5 separate regions of the Homo sapiens genome follow, and all the other regions are linked to region 4. The links are contacts of gene promoters, found by promoter capture Hi-C in human tissues and cell types (Jung and others, 2019). All regions are on one chromosome and are shown on one strand. The core of a region is centred on a gene start or on the middle of the fragment in contact, and the rest is flanking DNA. Distances in the headings are between cores, read along the strand shown.

Region 1 (2,707 bases), core at 49-2,548, 300 kb before region 4:
TAGTTTTAAAATGTAATGGGGAAAAACCATAGCCAACAACTGTGCAAATTTGTTAACGCCTTTGTTCTTTTTTTTTTTTTTTTGAGACGGAATCTCGCTCTGTCACCCAGGCTGGAGTGCAGTGGCGCCATCTCGGCTCACTGCAAGCTCCGCCTCCTGGGTTCATGCCATTCTCCTGCCTCAGCCTCCCGAGTAGCCGGGACTACAGGCGCCTGCCACCACGCCCAACTAATTCTTTGCATTTTTAGTAGAGTTGGGGTTTCGCTGTGTTAGCCAGGATGGTCTCGATCTCCTGACCTCATGATCCGCCCGCCTCGGCCTCCCAAAGTGTTGGGATTACGGGCGTGAGCCACCGCGCCCGGCTAATGCCTTTGTTCTACAGCAAGCTCAAAGAAGATCTTACTTGTGTAACTAGCTGCCACTGGCCCCAGACCACTATAAATATTTTTCAATAAGTTCAGCATTTTTCAGTAAACAACATATTTCATAAAGTCGCATTGTCTATGATACAGGCATGCAGTAACTCGACCTATACAAATAAATGTAACTGTGCATAAGCAGAAACTGCTTTCTCTCTCCCAGAAGGTAGTTCTCACCAAGCCCTTTCCCTTGTCTCATGGATATATAAGGCAACTTCTTTTTTGTTGTTTGTTTTGAGACCTGATCTTGATCTATCTCCCAGGCTGGAGCACAGTGGCATGATCTTGGCTCACTGCAGCCTTGTCCTTTTGGGCTCGAGCAATCCTCCCACCTCAGCCTCCCAAACAGTTGGGACTATAGGTACATGCCACTATGCCCACCTAATTTTTGTATTTTTCCATAGAGATGGGTTTTTTGCCATGTTGCTCAGGCTGGTCTCAAACTCCTGGCCTCAAGTAATCTGCCTGCCAAGGCCTCCCAAAGTGCTGAGATTACAGGCATGAGCCACCAAGCCCAGCTATCAGGCAATTTCTAGAGACCACCACCCACATATCCCCAGAGTTTCACAAAAGCAATGTCTGATGTGGAACTTACTAACTCCTTCAATGAACTGTGCTCTTCTGTTGGGTCTTTCCATTACCTATACTACCACTGGCTGGGAAAACCAGCCTCACATCACAGCATGACCTTCAATTCCTTTTTCTCACACACCTTCCAAATTCCAGTTTCACTTTATCTTCACCTGTTATATTTCCCCTCTCATATCCTCAGCGTTTCATCTGCCACTACCTGAATCAAATTTCTAACAGGATTGTTTGCTTTCAACTCTTTGTCTTCCAGTTCATCACACTTACTGAGAACAAGTAAATCTTCCTAAAGCTGACCTGGAGCTACTTTATCTGCTATCATAGGCAGTCACCACAGTTTCAGAACATGGTAGTGAGAGGTGACAGCGTGCTGGCAGTCCTCAGAGCCCTCGCTTGCTCTCGGCGCCTCCTCTGCCTGGGTTCCCACTTTGGCGGCACTTGAGGGGCCCTTTGGCCCGCCGCTGCACTGTGGGACCCCCTTTCTGGGCTGGCCAAGGCCAGAGCCAGCTCCCTCAGCTTGCAGGGAGGTGTGGAAGGAGAGGCGCGAGCAGGAACCGGGGCTGCGCGCAGCACTTGCGGGTCAGCTGGAGTTCCGGGTGGGCGTGGGCTTGGTGGGCCCCGCACTTGGAGCAGCCAGCCAGCCCTGCTGGCCCCGGGCAATGGGGGACTTAGCACCCGGGCCAGTGGCTGCAGAGGGTGTACTGAGTCCCCCAGCAGTGCCGGCCCATAAGTGCTGCGCTCGATTTCTCACTGAGCCTTAGCTGCTTTCCCGCGGGGCAGGGCTCGGGACCTGCAGCCCGCCATGCCTCAGCCTCCCACCCCTCCATGGGCTCCTGTGCCGCCCGAGCCTCCCTGACAAGCACCACCCCCTGCTCCACGGCGCCCAGTCCCATCAACCACCCAAAGGCTGAGGAATGCGAACGCACCACGGCGCAGGACTGGCAGGCAGCTCCACCTGCAGCCCCAGTGCGAGATCCACTAGGTGAACCCAGCTGGGCTCCTGAGTCTGGTGGGGACGTGGAGAGTCTTTATATCTACCTCAGGGATTGTAAATACACCAATCAGCACCCTGTGTTTAGCTCAAGGTTTGTGAATCCACCAATCGACACTCTGTATCTAGCTGCTCTGGTGGGGCCTTGGAAAACCTTTATGTCTAGCTCAGGGATTGTAAATACACCAATCGGCACTCTGTATCTAGCTCAAGGTTTGTAAACACACCAATCAGCACCCTGTGTTTAGCTCAAGGTTTGTGAATGCACCAATCGACACTCTGTATCTAGCTGCTCTGGTGGGGCCTTGGAGAACCTCTGCATCTAGCTCAAGGTTTGTAAACACACCAATCAGCACCCTGTGTTTAGCTCAAGGTTTGTGAGTGCACCAATCGACACTCTGTATCTAGCTGCTCTGGTGGGGCCTTGGAGAATCTGTGTGTCGAAACTCTGTATCTAACTAATCTGATGGGGACACGGAGAACCTTTGTATCTAGCTCAGGGATTGTAAACGCACCAATCAGTGCCCTGACAAAACAGGCCACTCGGCTCTACCAATCAGCAGGATGTGGGTGGGCCCAGATAAGAGAATAAAAGCAGGCTGCCCGAGCCAGCACTGGTAACCCGCTCGGGTCCCCTTCCACACTGTGGAAGCTTTGTTCTTTCGTTCTTTGCAATAAATCTTGCTACTGCTCACTCTTTGGGTCCACT
Region 2 (2,708 bases), core at 122-2,621, 340 kb after region 4:
GGAGTTCAAGACCAGCCTGGCCAACATGGTGGAGGAGGCAGTGGTTGCAGTGGGCTGAGATTGTGCCACTGCACTCCAGCCTGGGCAACAGAGAGAGACTCCCTCTCAAAAGAAAAGAAAAAAAAAGAAAAGTTGGCTGGGCGTGGTGGCTCACAGCTCACAGCCTGTAATCCCAGCACTTTGGGAGGCTGAGGCAGGTGGATCACCTGAGATCAGGAGTTCAAGGCCAGCATGGTCAACATGATGAATCCCCGTCTCTACTAAAAATACAAAAATTAGTTGGGCGTGGTGGCGCACGCCTGTAGTCCCAGCTACTCAGGAGGCTGAAGCAGGAGAATCGCATGTACCCAAGAGGTGGAGATTGCAGTGAGCCAAGATTACGCCACTGCACTCCAGCCTGGGGAAGAGAATGAGACTCTGTCTCAAAAAAAAAAAAAAAAAGATGGGGACATATTGGATTAGAGTGGGTCCTAAATCCAGTCATTGGTGTCCTTTTAAGAACGCCATGTAGGCCGGGCACAGTGGCTCATGCCTGTAATCCCAGCACTTTGGGAGGCTGAGGCAGGTGGATCATGAGGTCAGGAGTTTGAGACCAGCCTGGCCAATATGGTGAAACCCCGTCTCTACTAAAAAAATACAAAAATTAGCCAGGCGTGGTGGCTCACGCCTGTAGTCCCAGCTACTTGGGAGGCTGAGGCAGAAGAATCTCTTGAACCCGGGAGGCAGAGATTGCAGGGAGCTGAGATCATGCCACTGCACTCCAGCCTGGGTGACAGAGCGAGACTCCATCTCAAAAAAAAAAAAAAAAAGAATGTCATGTGAAGGCACAGACAGACATACATAGGGAAGAAAGCCATGTGATGACCGTGGACAGAGGTGGGATTGGAGTGATGAGGCTATGAGCCAAGAAATACCAAGGATTACCAGCAACAACTGGAAACTAGGAAGAGGTGAGGAAGCGTTCTTTATTAGCACCTTCAGAGGGAGCATGGCCCCGCTGACGCCTTGATTTCAGACTTCTAGCCTCCAGAACTGTGAGAGAATCAATTCATGTTGTTTTAAGCCACTCACCTGTAGTGCTTTGTTACGGCAGCCCTAGTAAACTAATACTTTTTTTTTTTTTAACATTTAGTGGTTTTTTTTTTTTTTTTGAGACAGTCTTACTCTGTCACACAGGCTGGAGTCCAGTGGTGTGATCTTGGCTCACTGCAGCCTCAAACTTCCCAGGCTCAGGTGATCCTCCCACCTCAGCCTCCCAAGTAGCTGGGACTACAGGTGTGCGCCACCACACTTGAATACTAACACATATTTTGGTACCAGGAGGTGAAGTGCTGCTGGCTGCTGTAATAAAGAACTAAAAATGTGGAAGTGGTTATGAAATGGGATAGTGGGTAGAGGCTGGAAGAATTTTGTGGTGCATGATAAAAAGCTTAGACTGTCTTGAAGAGACTGTTAGTAGAAATTTAGACATTAAAGATTATTCTGGTGAAGGCACAGAAGGAAGTGAAGAGGATGACAGAGAAAGCGTCCATCATCTTTTTTTTTTTTTTTTTTTTTGAGACAGGGTCTCACTCTGTTGCCCAGGCTGGAGTGCAGTGGTGCAATCTCAGCTCACTGCAACCTCTGCCTCCCATGTTTAAACAATTCTCCTGCCTCAGCCTCCTGAGTAGCTGGGATTACAGGCACAGGCCACCATGGCTGGCTAATTTTTTGTATTTTTAGTAGAGACGGGGTTTCGCCATGTTGACCAGGCTGGTCTCGAACTCCTGGCCTCATGTGATCTGCCCATCTCGGCCTCCCAAAGTGCTGGGATTACAGTCATGAGCCACTACGCCCGGCCAGCTTCCACCATCGTAAAGAGCACATATATCATCATGAAAAGAACGTTGATAGAAATATGAACATTAAAGGTGCCTCTGTGAGCCCACAAGGGGAAATGAGGTACCTTTTCCTGGACCCTAGAGAAAAGGTAATCCATGTTATAAAGTGGCAGAGAATGTGGCTAAACTGAGTTCCCATGTTGGACGGCTACAACCAAGACTGATGGTAACAAGCGCAGGCGGGTATGTGGAGAAATCAGAGCCCTCACACACTGCGGGAGGGAATGTGAGATGGCGAAACAGTGTGGCAGTTTCTGAAAAGGTTGAATGTATAATTACCATATGACCCAGCAATTCTACTCCTAGCGTACAGTGAGGAGAAATAAAAATATAAGTCCGCACAAAAACTTATGCCGGATGCGGTGGCTCATGTCTGTAATCCCAGCACTTTGGGAGGCCAAGGCAGGTAGATCTCTTGAGCCCAGGAGTTTGAGACCAGCCTGGGCAACATGATGAAACCCCATCTCTACAAACAAATACAAAAATTAGCTGGGTGTGGTGGCGAGTTCCTGTAGTCCCAGCTACTTGGGAGACAGAGGTGGGAGGATTGCTTGAGCCCAGGAGATGGAGGCTGCAGTGAGCTAAGATCGTGCTACTGCACTCAGCCTGGGCAACAAAGCAAGACCCTGTCTCAAACAAACAAACATAGAAAACACCTTGGACATGAATGTTCACAGCAGCATTATCCACATAGCCCAAAAGTGGCAACAACTCAAATGCCCATCAACTGATGAATGGATACATAATGTGTGGTATATTTATATAATAGGATGTTATTTGGCAATGTAAAGGAATGAAATACTGCTACATGCTACACGAATAAACCTT
Region 3 (2,752 bases), core at 30-2,529, 300 kb after region 4:
TATGTTTTACAGTTTATGGTTCATAGTTTTCTGTGTAGAAATTTTGTCTTTCCTAGGTATTTGATGTTTTTGATGCTATTGGAAACGTCTTTTGAAATTATATTTTTAATTAGAAGTTTAATAGATTTTTTTACTATACTGACCTTGTATGTCTCACACACACAAAAAAAGAAATACCAGCTGGGCGCAGTGGCTCACATCTGTAATCCCAGCACTTTGGGAGGCCAAGGTGGGTGAATCACCTGAGGTAAGGAGTTCAAGGCCAGCCTGGCCAACATAGCAAAACCCTGTCTACTAAAAATACCAAAAAAATTATCTGGGCATGGTGGCACATGCCTGTAACCCAAGTTGCTTGGGAGGCTGAGGTAGGAGAATCGCTTGAACCTGGGAGGCAGAGGTTGCAGTGAGCCAAGATCATGCCACTGCACTCCAGCCTGGGCAACAGAGTGAGACTCCGTCTCAAAAAACCAAACCAAACCAAAACAAAACAAAACAAAAGAAGTACCCATGGGGGATATTTCTTTAGATGTTAAACAAAACAAAATTTAAAAGCATTATAAACAATTATACCCTAATACATTTGAAGGAAAACCAGTGAAGCTAAGGAGAAAAATTTGCCTTAAAATACTGAAATTATCAGACACTGACATTAGAATAACAACACATACACTGTTTAAAGATTACACAGTGAGATTAAAGGAAAAAAGAGCTTAAAGAGATTAAACAAAAGATTGAGCAATTCAGAGGAAAACTTGAAATATATGGGATACTTAGTGTTGAAGGAGCAGCTTGGATCCTCTTGACTGCTTTTTTTTTTTTTTTTTTTTTTTGTGAGACAGAGTCTTGCTTGTAGCCCAATCTCGACTCAATGCAAGCTCCGCCTCCCTGGTTCACGCCATTCTCCTCCCTTAGCCTCCCGAGTAGCTGGGACTACAGGTGCCCACCACCATGCCCGGCTAACTTTTTGTATTTTTAGTAGAGATGGGGTTTCACCATGTTAGCCAGGATGGTCTTGATCTCCTGACCTCATGATCCGCCTACCTTGGCCTCCCAAAGTGCTGGGATTACAGGCGTGAGCCACCGCACCCAGCCAACTGCTTATAGTAAAATGTGAAAAGGCCGGGCGCGGTGGCTCACGCCTGTAATCCCAGCACTTTGGGAGGCCAAGGCGGGCAGATCACCTGATGTCGGGAGTTCGAGACCAGCCTGGCCAACATGGAGAAACCCCGTCTCTACTAAAAACACAAAATTAGCCGTGCGTGGTGGCACATGCCTGTAATCCCAGCTACTAGGGAGGCTGAGGCAGCAGAATCACTTGAACCCGGGAGGTGGAGGTTGCGGTGAGCTGAGCTCATGCCATTGCACTCCAGCCTGAGCAACAAGAGCGAAACTCCGTCTCAAAAAAAAAAAAAAAAAAGTGAAAAAAGAGAAATGAATTGTTAAGCAAAAAAAGAACTAGAATTTAAAAATCTGGACAATTCTCAGCCTATCCATACTGTAAATACTAAGAGAGTAGTCCAAAAACTGCGAGGTAAGGAGATTAGAATGGGTATGAATCACAGACCTAATCAGTCACCCTAGCACCTGCCAGAGGGGAGAAAGGGGATGAAGTGAAGGAAGGCTGTCGGACATCTAAGATCCTACAGGACTGGGCCATAGAGCAAGCTTGTCCAACCTGTGACCAGCGGCCCACATTCAGGCCAGGATGGCTTTGAATGTGGCCCAACACAAATTCTTAAACTTTCTTAAAACATTATGAGATTTTTTTTTTTTTTTTTTTGCTCATCAGCTATCATTAGTGTGTTTTATGTGTGGCCCAAGACAATTTTCTTCTTCCAAAGTGGCCCAGAGAAGGCAAAAGATTGGACACCCCTGCTACAGCTATTTTTTTATTTTTTTATTTTTTAGCCAGAGTCTCACTCTGTCACCCAAGCTGGAGTGCAGTGGCATGATCTCAGCTCACTGCAAGCTCTGCCTCCCGGGTTCACGCCATTCCTGCCTCAGTCTCCTGAGTAGCTGGCACTACAGGCGCCCGCCACCATGCCTGGCTAACTTTTTCTATTTTGTTCAGCAGAGACGGGGTTTCACCATGTTAGCCAGGATGGTCTCGATCTCCTGACCTTGTGATCCGCCCGCCTCGGCCTCCCAAAGTGCTGGGATTACAGGCTTGAGCCACTGCGCCTGGCCTTTTTTTTTTTTTTTTTTTTTTTTGAGACAGGGTCTCACTCTGCCACCCAAGCTGGAGTGCAGTAGTGTGATCACAGCTCACTGCAACCTTGATCTCCTAGGCTCAAGCAATCCTCCCACCTCAGCCTCCTGAGTAGCTGGGGCTACAAGTGCATGCTACCATGCCCAGCTAACTAAAAAAAAAAAATCATGGAGACGAGGTCTCACTATATTGCCCAGGCTGGTCTTGAACTCCTGGGCTCAAGCAATCCTCCCATCTCAGCCTCTCAAAGTACTGGGATTAAAGGCGTCAGCCATCATGCTTGGCAGCGCTATTTTCAAGGTGCAGTGTTCTTAAAGACAAGAAAAGGACCTCAAAGACAATTCAATCATCAAGGCTGCCACTCCCACCACAGGCCCAGAGTGCACAGGCCGGAACCAGGTTGCCGCCACCTCCGTTTTTTTTGTTGTTGTTGCTTTTTTTCTGAGACGGAGTTTTGCTCTTGCCACCCAGGCTGGCTGGAGTGCAATGGCGCAATCTCGGTTCACTACAACCTCCACCTCCTGGGTTCAAGCGATTCTCCTG
Region 4 (2,897 bases), core at 78-2,577:
GAACAGGACACTTTCTGCTTTTCAGAAGTTGGGAAACGCACAAGACATGTGCTTAGCAAACGGGATGCCAGAGATTGAAGGGAAAGTAGCTCTTCCGCGGGAAACACCGTGGGATGCATTTTTTGCTATCAGGAAAAGCCCAGGAAGCTTTCTGAAAGTTGGGTAAAAAGACCTGGCCTTAGGAAAGCAGCAGAGTGGACATCAGGAATGTGCACAGGGCGAGGGACTGAGATGATTTTACATAAACGCCAGGAAAGAAAATGCCATGGTCCTTTGTTGAGAAGGAACAAAGATCACAGCAAACGAAGATCCTGAGGATGGTTTAGCAAAGGGTGAAAGTGAGTGCCTAGAAGAGCCTGATTTTCCCCGCGGGGGTAGATTCCAAAGAGCTTCCAGGGATAGAGATAGAAGGAGAGTACGGAGCAATCCGAAAGGGGTGAAGGTGGGCCTGGCTCGGGCTTAGGCCCAAGGATCTCCACCTCTTCCCCTGGAAGGTCCCGACGGCCTCTCCCGCCCAACATTCCGCCCGGGCGGGGGTGCACATGGCAGGCCCTAGCCCGGCTGTCCCCGAGCGGCGAACCCGGACGGACGGGTCTCGCCCTTCTCCCGGTCCGTTTCCTGGCCTGATCTCTCCGAGGCCGACACCGAGGCCAGGGGCCCGGAGCACCGCCCGCCGGTCTCTCCTTACCTGCCCAGACCCTGCAGCTGGTCCATAGTGACGGTCAGGTTGGTGACAGGCGACAGTCCCCCGGCGGCTGAAGCGCCAAATAGCGCCTTCACGACGGGCTGCGACGCGGGAGGGGGGCTGCAGGCGAAGAGCAGGCGGCGGCGGTGCGGGGGCTCCGGGCCCAGTTCCATGGCGGCGCCCGGCCTCGCAGAGCTCCCGCTCCCTCTTCCTCTGCCTCCGCCGCGACCGCCCCGCCCCGCCGACACCGGCCTCGGCCGCGCGCCACCGGCGCCCGCGGGTCAAACACAAACACGACTCCGCGGTTCAGGGACGCGGCTGCCGCGGGCAAGCGGCGCGGCCGGGCGGGTGTGCGGACCCTCCAGGCGCCAGCCACCAGCCACAGGCACGGGTGCTTCCCTCTCACACCGCGAGGCCAGCGGGCGGGCGGGCGCCGGCAACCTGAAGATTAAATCCAAACAAACGTGGCGGGTCGGCAAGAGAAGCCGGGCGAGAGCCTCGAGGCAACGGCCCAGGCTCACGCTGTCTTCGCTGTTCTCCCACCCGCTTGCCCAGCTCCGGGTAGCAGAAAACCAAGCCGACCTACACCTCTTACCCAGGCTGTCGCAGCCAGGCCGGCCTTTCGCGGTAATAGCGGCTCAGTGGGGCCAGCTGCTGCCCCGCCCCCCTTTCCTAGTTGGCGCCAAACGGAATCCACCAATCAGTAAGCAACTTCTCCTCCTCTCAACCGAATGGCAGCTAGGCTGGGCCAATGAGAGGGGAAGAAGAAAGCGGCTCGCGGGACTCTGCCAGGTCATCGGCTCTCAGAAGGGGGCGGAGCCCAGAGCAGAAGAGCGGGGATCAAAATGAGAGGGGGAGCAGAGGTCAATGAAAACTCCCAGCAGAACCTGCGAGGCGCTGCTCGCGGCTGAAAGGCCCCTTTGCCCCGTCGCATGCTGGGAAGCGTAGTTCCCATCGCGAGCTGCCGTCCAGTTAGCTTCGGCCCCCTTTGGGCCTCCGCTACCTCGCCCCCAGCCGGGCGCCCCACACTCTGAGGCAATGTGGAGGCTAAGGAAGACCTGTGGAGGTCTGGCCGGATCCAGCCTTGGCTCGGCCTCTAACCGTGCAGTATTGTGGACCCCTTTCTTCCGCCCCGGGCCTCCAGGCCCCATTTTATAATGAGGGAGGGAATGCAATGACCCCCAGGACTGGACTCGACCACCAGGGCCCAACTCTGGAGGGCTCACAGACCCTGGGTGCTGCTGGCCTCATGGGATTTGAACCCCGCAGTACAACCTGTGCTGTGGGCCTCAGCATTTTTTGCTCACTTCCATTCTAGCCCTTATTGGATGCTCTTAGAATCATTTCTTTCTTTCCCACCACTTCTTAGCCCCCTGGGAGCTCCTAGAGAGAAATAACAGCAAACACAATAATAGCAAATAATAGCTAAAGTTTACATAATGCTTATGCACTTGACACTGTTCCCAGTGTGTTAATCTGTATTAATTCATTTAATCTTTACAACTCTGTGACATAGGAATTATCCCCATTTTCTAAGTGGGCATATTTACTTTTACAGCGCCGAACCTGTGGCAGCTCCTAGACGGATTTTGAGGGCCATAAGTGCATGATTTAATTGCAACCTACTGCTGGGCTTAGTGGCTCACGCCTATCATCCCAGCACTTTGGGAGGGCGAGGTGGGAGGATTGCCTGAGCCCACGAATTTGAGACCAGCCTGGGCAACAAAGTGAGACACCCCCTGCCCCCCACTCAAAAAAAAAAAACCCTACAGTTTGAAAAGCCATGCTGGACAGGTGGAAACCCCAAACCTTTGGCCCCAACACCAGACCCTTCACAGTGAGGAACCTCTCTCTCAGGATTCATCTCCTTTTCTGTGCACCAGTGCTCCACCACCCAGGAACCTCCCTTCCCTCCAGAAACCCCAGGCTATTTAGGCCTCTCTGCACAGTTCACATGGTCTGTGGTCCCACTGTTTCAAATAGTTCTCCCTGTCGTATCTCTGAATACTTTCCTCTCCTCCTGTGTTTTATGTGGTTTAATACTTGGCTCAACAGGCCGGGAGCGGTGGCTCACGCCTGTAATCCCAGCACTTTGGGAGACCGAGGCGGGCGGATCACGGGGTCAGGAGATCGAGACCATCCTGGCTAACATGGTGAAACCCCGGCTCTACTAAAAATACAAAAAATTACCGGGCGTGGTGGCGGGCGCCTG
Region 5 (2,905 bases), core at 63-2,562, 410 kb after region 4:
GATGGAGCACCTCTGGTGAACGGCTGCAAGGGTTAGAGGGCTAGAACGTGGAGAATCCAACAGGCGTGGGGGCCCCCTCCTGGGCTCCCCATCTCCAGATCAGAAAACACAGCCTCACTGTCTTGCACCTTCCTGTCTTGCAGTAGCCTGGAGGTGCCTCAGGGCACGAAGGTTCTACCTAGGGAATCCTTACCTCTGTCTCCAAAGGAGGTCCTGGCTAGGGGGTCTCTAGGTTCCCCAAAACTTGTTTCTGCAAAGACCTGGCCTGGGGTTTCCAGGGTCTCCTCCCTCTCTGGGGAAGGAGTCTTGGTGGGGATCTCGTGGTCCCCAGCCCCCAGGGCCCCTACTCACCGTGGGTCATCGCTGTACTGCACTGTGGCAAAGCGCACACCCTGTGCACTGGCTGCTCCAGAGAAAGGCAGCACCAGCCCTTCGAGAAAGCTGCGGACCTCGCGGAAATTGCTGCGGCCAATGGATGAGGAGCCATCCAGTAAGAACACAATGTCAGCGGCGTAAAGGCGCGTGCAGGTCACTGGGGCGGGCAGGAGAGATCAGGGCCTCTTCTGGGAGGCCAACCACCCGCCTACCCGCACGGTGGCCTCACTGGGACTTGGGATGGTGGGGAGAGTAGGCCTCATCTTATGCAAACCAGGGCCGAATCGGCCTGAGCCTGAGGGCCTTGGAGGGAGTTGAGCTCGGTGGGTCCCAGAGCAGACTCCCGCGGAGGGTTGGGGGTGTGCGGGGGAGGGAGAGTCGCCAGCACGGGTGTGGACTTGGGACTGAGGTCAGCCTCTAGGGGCCGGCGTGGATTGGCATAAGGCAGGGGACCCCGCACGCATCCAGGGAGCCAGAATTTGGGTAGGAACAGGATAGGAGGCGGTTTAGGGAACCCAGCACCGATCGCGGAGGGTTCGGGGAGTCCCAGAATTAGGAGGAATCCGCGGGGCGTCGTGGAGTTGGCTGGGTTGTGGGCGGGGGGTGTTGGGGATGAAGGCCGAGTGGAGCGGAGGGTGGCACGGTGCAGTGCCCCGGGCCGGGTCCTCCCTTGCGGTGCCCACCTCTCTCCCTGTGCTGGGCTCGCACTCGGGGCGCCTCTGCCAGGATCCCGGCGCAGAGCGCGGCCACCAGAAGCCGCAGCGTCATCCTAGGCAGTAAAAGCCGTCAGCTAGGACCCCCGCCTCTGTCCCTTGCTCCCCCGTGGCCTTGGCAGGTCCGAGCCCAGCGCCCCTCCAGCCCGAGTCCTGGTCTTGCCTGCGCGTCCGCCCGCTCCCGCCGCCGCCGCTGCAGTCTCTCGGGCAGAGCAGAGAAAAGTCCCTGATCTCGGGGGGCGGAGCGGCAGGCGGGAACCCAGGCACCCGCCCTCACCCATATCCCTGAGAGGTCGCCGCCCCCCCCACCCCTCCCCCAGACAAACGATATGACGCACTTAACTATAAACCCCCCGACCCCCCGTGGCTTCTGGGAATTTCCCAGAAGGTTCTGCATGGGCAGATGCTGAGGGAGTACCCCTAACTCCATCTAAGGTCACAGGTCTTGGCTGCTTTAGGTCAATCACAGTGACCAGGCTGAGGAGTGGACAGGTTCCTGCAGAGCCACAAGGCAGCAGCGCCGTGGGGGGTGGGGCTGCAGTTGGGGATGACTCACCCCCAATCCAGTGGGGGTGCCCAGACAAGCCCTCAGGCCATGGGTCCCGCCGGCCACTCCTGTGATTCAGCCATCTGTCTGGTGGGCCTCCTGGGCCCCACCCGGATCTCCTTGACAGGCAAGAAGCCCTGGCAAATGAGTGACTCTGGGCCGGTCTTAGGGAAACCAAGGTCCCCTTGGCCTGGATCCAAGTAACTCACCCCCTCTTTGTAGGGGATAAGCCGGAAGGAGGAGAGAACCTGTGTCATGCTTATGCATACATCCCAGTGTCCCACATCCCCTACCATGTCACAGGCAGATGCAATCCAGCTGTGCCTGCAGGGAGGGGGCCGCCCATCTGTGGAGGGCGGGACCACCCACAGTGACAGCTCATCTCTCAGGAATCGAGCCCTCCATGCCCCAGGCCAGGTCCCCCTACCTACATGTCCTCACCCACAGGCATCCTCTCCTTCCATCTACTTTTCTTGTAGGTCCCTGCCACCCATCTCCCCTACCAGGCCGAGGTCCCCTTGGGCCCCTTCCTCCTTTCCTCACTGCCCTCATGGTACCTGTAGCTTCCAGCTTCATAACTGCCCCCTACCTTACTCCTGTCCCCTTACCCAGGCTGACTTCACACCCTCCCCCAGCTTCGCTTCTGAGGCTGTGGACAGTCCTCCAACACACACCACGCCAGGGCCACTGTCCGAAGGAGGTGGGGCTCTGTATATGCATATCTCTCCATTAGATGGGTGACACTAAGGCAGAGAGGCACTGCTAAGAAGGGCAGGCCCCCATCTGGGTCCTGCTCCCCCTTTTTTTCCTGCTAATCCTGAATAACTCTGGGCAGCCCAGAAAGCACATCTATACTCACCAAGGCTGCTGGGCCCCTTCTAATATGCCCGGCCCCACAGCCTCCCCTGGGATCCACAGGGAGATATGGGGACAGCACTGGCTGGACTCCTCCACAGCCCGAGGACTCTGGTGTGGCCAGAGCTGGAGGCAGTGAAGACCATCCATGCTGCCTGCTTTCCTATTGCCCAAGGAAGGCTGGGGCTCTATCCCTTATTACTGACCCCCCAAACTATCCTGGGGCATAGTGCTATGACCTTATTCCAAGGTCAGGGTCTCCTCAGCCATGTCCCAGGACCCCCCATCCCTGCAAGGTGTGCTCCAGGTGGGGGGCTGCAGAGAACCAGGTATGTTATCACACAGGCAGCCCCTTCCCCCTAAGACTGTCACCTCCTCCCGTGCAGCCAGGGCGGGCAAGAGCAGGCCAGTGGCA

The links. Contacts are between HindIII fragments. The study calls those that stand out against the background at their distance.
Region 1: a fragment that was not itself captured here is called in contact with the fragment with the promoter of CDC25A in region 4 in 2 of the 25 tissues and cell types used here (aorta and mesenchymal stem cells).
Region 2: a contact is called between a fragment that was not itself captured here and the fragment with the promoter of CDC25A in region 4, in 2 of the 25 tissues and cell types used here (IMR-90 fibroblasts and pancreas).
Region 3: a fragment that was not itself captured here is called in contact with the fragment with the promoter of CDC25A in region 4 in 1 of the 25 tissues and cell types used here (H1 embryonic stem cells).
Region 5: a contact is called between the fragment with the promoter of COL7A1 here and the fragment with the promoter of CDC25A in region 4, in 1 of the 25 tissues and cell types used here (lymphoblastoid cells).

The regions. Positions count from the first base shown.
Region 1 is chr3:47,885,664-47,888,370 of GRCh38, forward strand. The region is part of intron 10 of MAP4 (microtubule associated protein 4); the gene reads right to left. Among named protein-coding and RNA genes, the nearest start is that of MIR1226, 37 kb to the left of the region's middle. The HindIII fragment of the contact is 3,092 bases long and covers 1-2,707 here.
Region 2 is chr3:48,526,149-48,528,856 of GRCh38, forward strand. The region is part of intron 9 of PFKFB4 (6-phosphofructo-2-kinase/fructose-2,6-biphosphatase 4); the gene reads right to left. Among named protein-coding and RNA genes, the nearest start is that of MIR6823, 23 kb to the right of the region's middle. The HindIII fragment of the contact is 3,007 bases long and covers 1-2,708 here.
Region 3 is chr3:48,487,435-48,490,186 of GRCh38, forward strand. The region is part of intron 2 of SHISA5 (shisa family member 5); the gene reads right to left. Among named protein-coding and RNA genes, the nearest start is that of SHISA5, 15 kb to the right of the region's middle. The HindIII fragment of the contact is 5,851 bases long and covers 1-2,752 here.
Region 4 is chr3:48,187,090-48,189,986 of GRCh38, forward strand. CDC25A (cell division cycle 25A) reads right to left here and starts at 1,328. Exons shown (of 15, transcript NM_001789.3): 1 at 689-1,328. The coding sequence starts at 858. RefSeq lists an enhancer at 413-1,041 and a silencer at 785-994. The HindIII fragment of the contact is 16,525 bases long and covers 1-2,897 here.
Region 5 is chr3:48,594,017-48,596,921 of GRCh38, forward strand. COL7A1 (collagen type VII alpha 1 chain) reads right to left here and starts at 1,313. Exons shown (of 119, transcript NM_000094.4): 1 at 1,252-1,313; 2 at 1,059-1,144; 3 at 352-532. The coding sequence starts at 1,143. The HindIII fragment of the contact is 15,548 bases long and covers 1-2,905 here.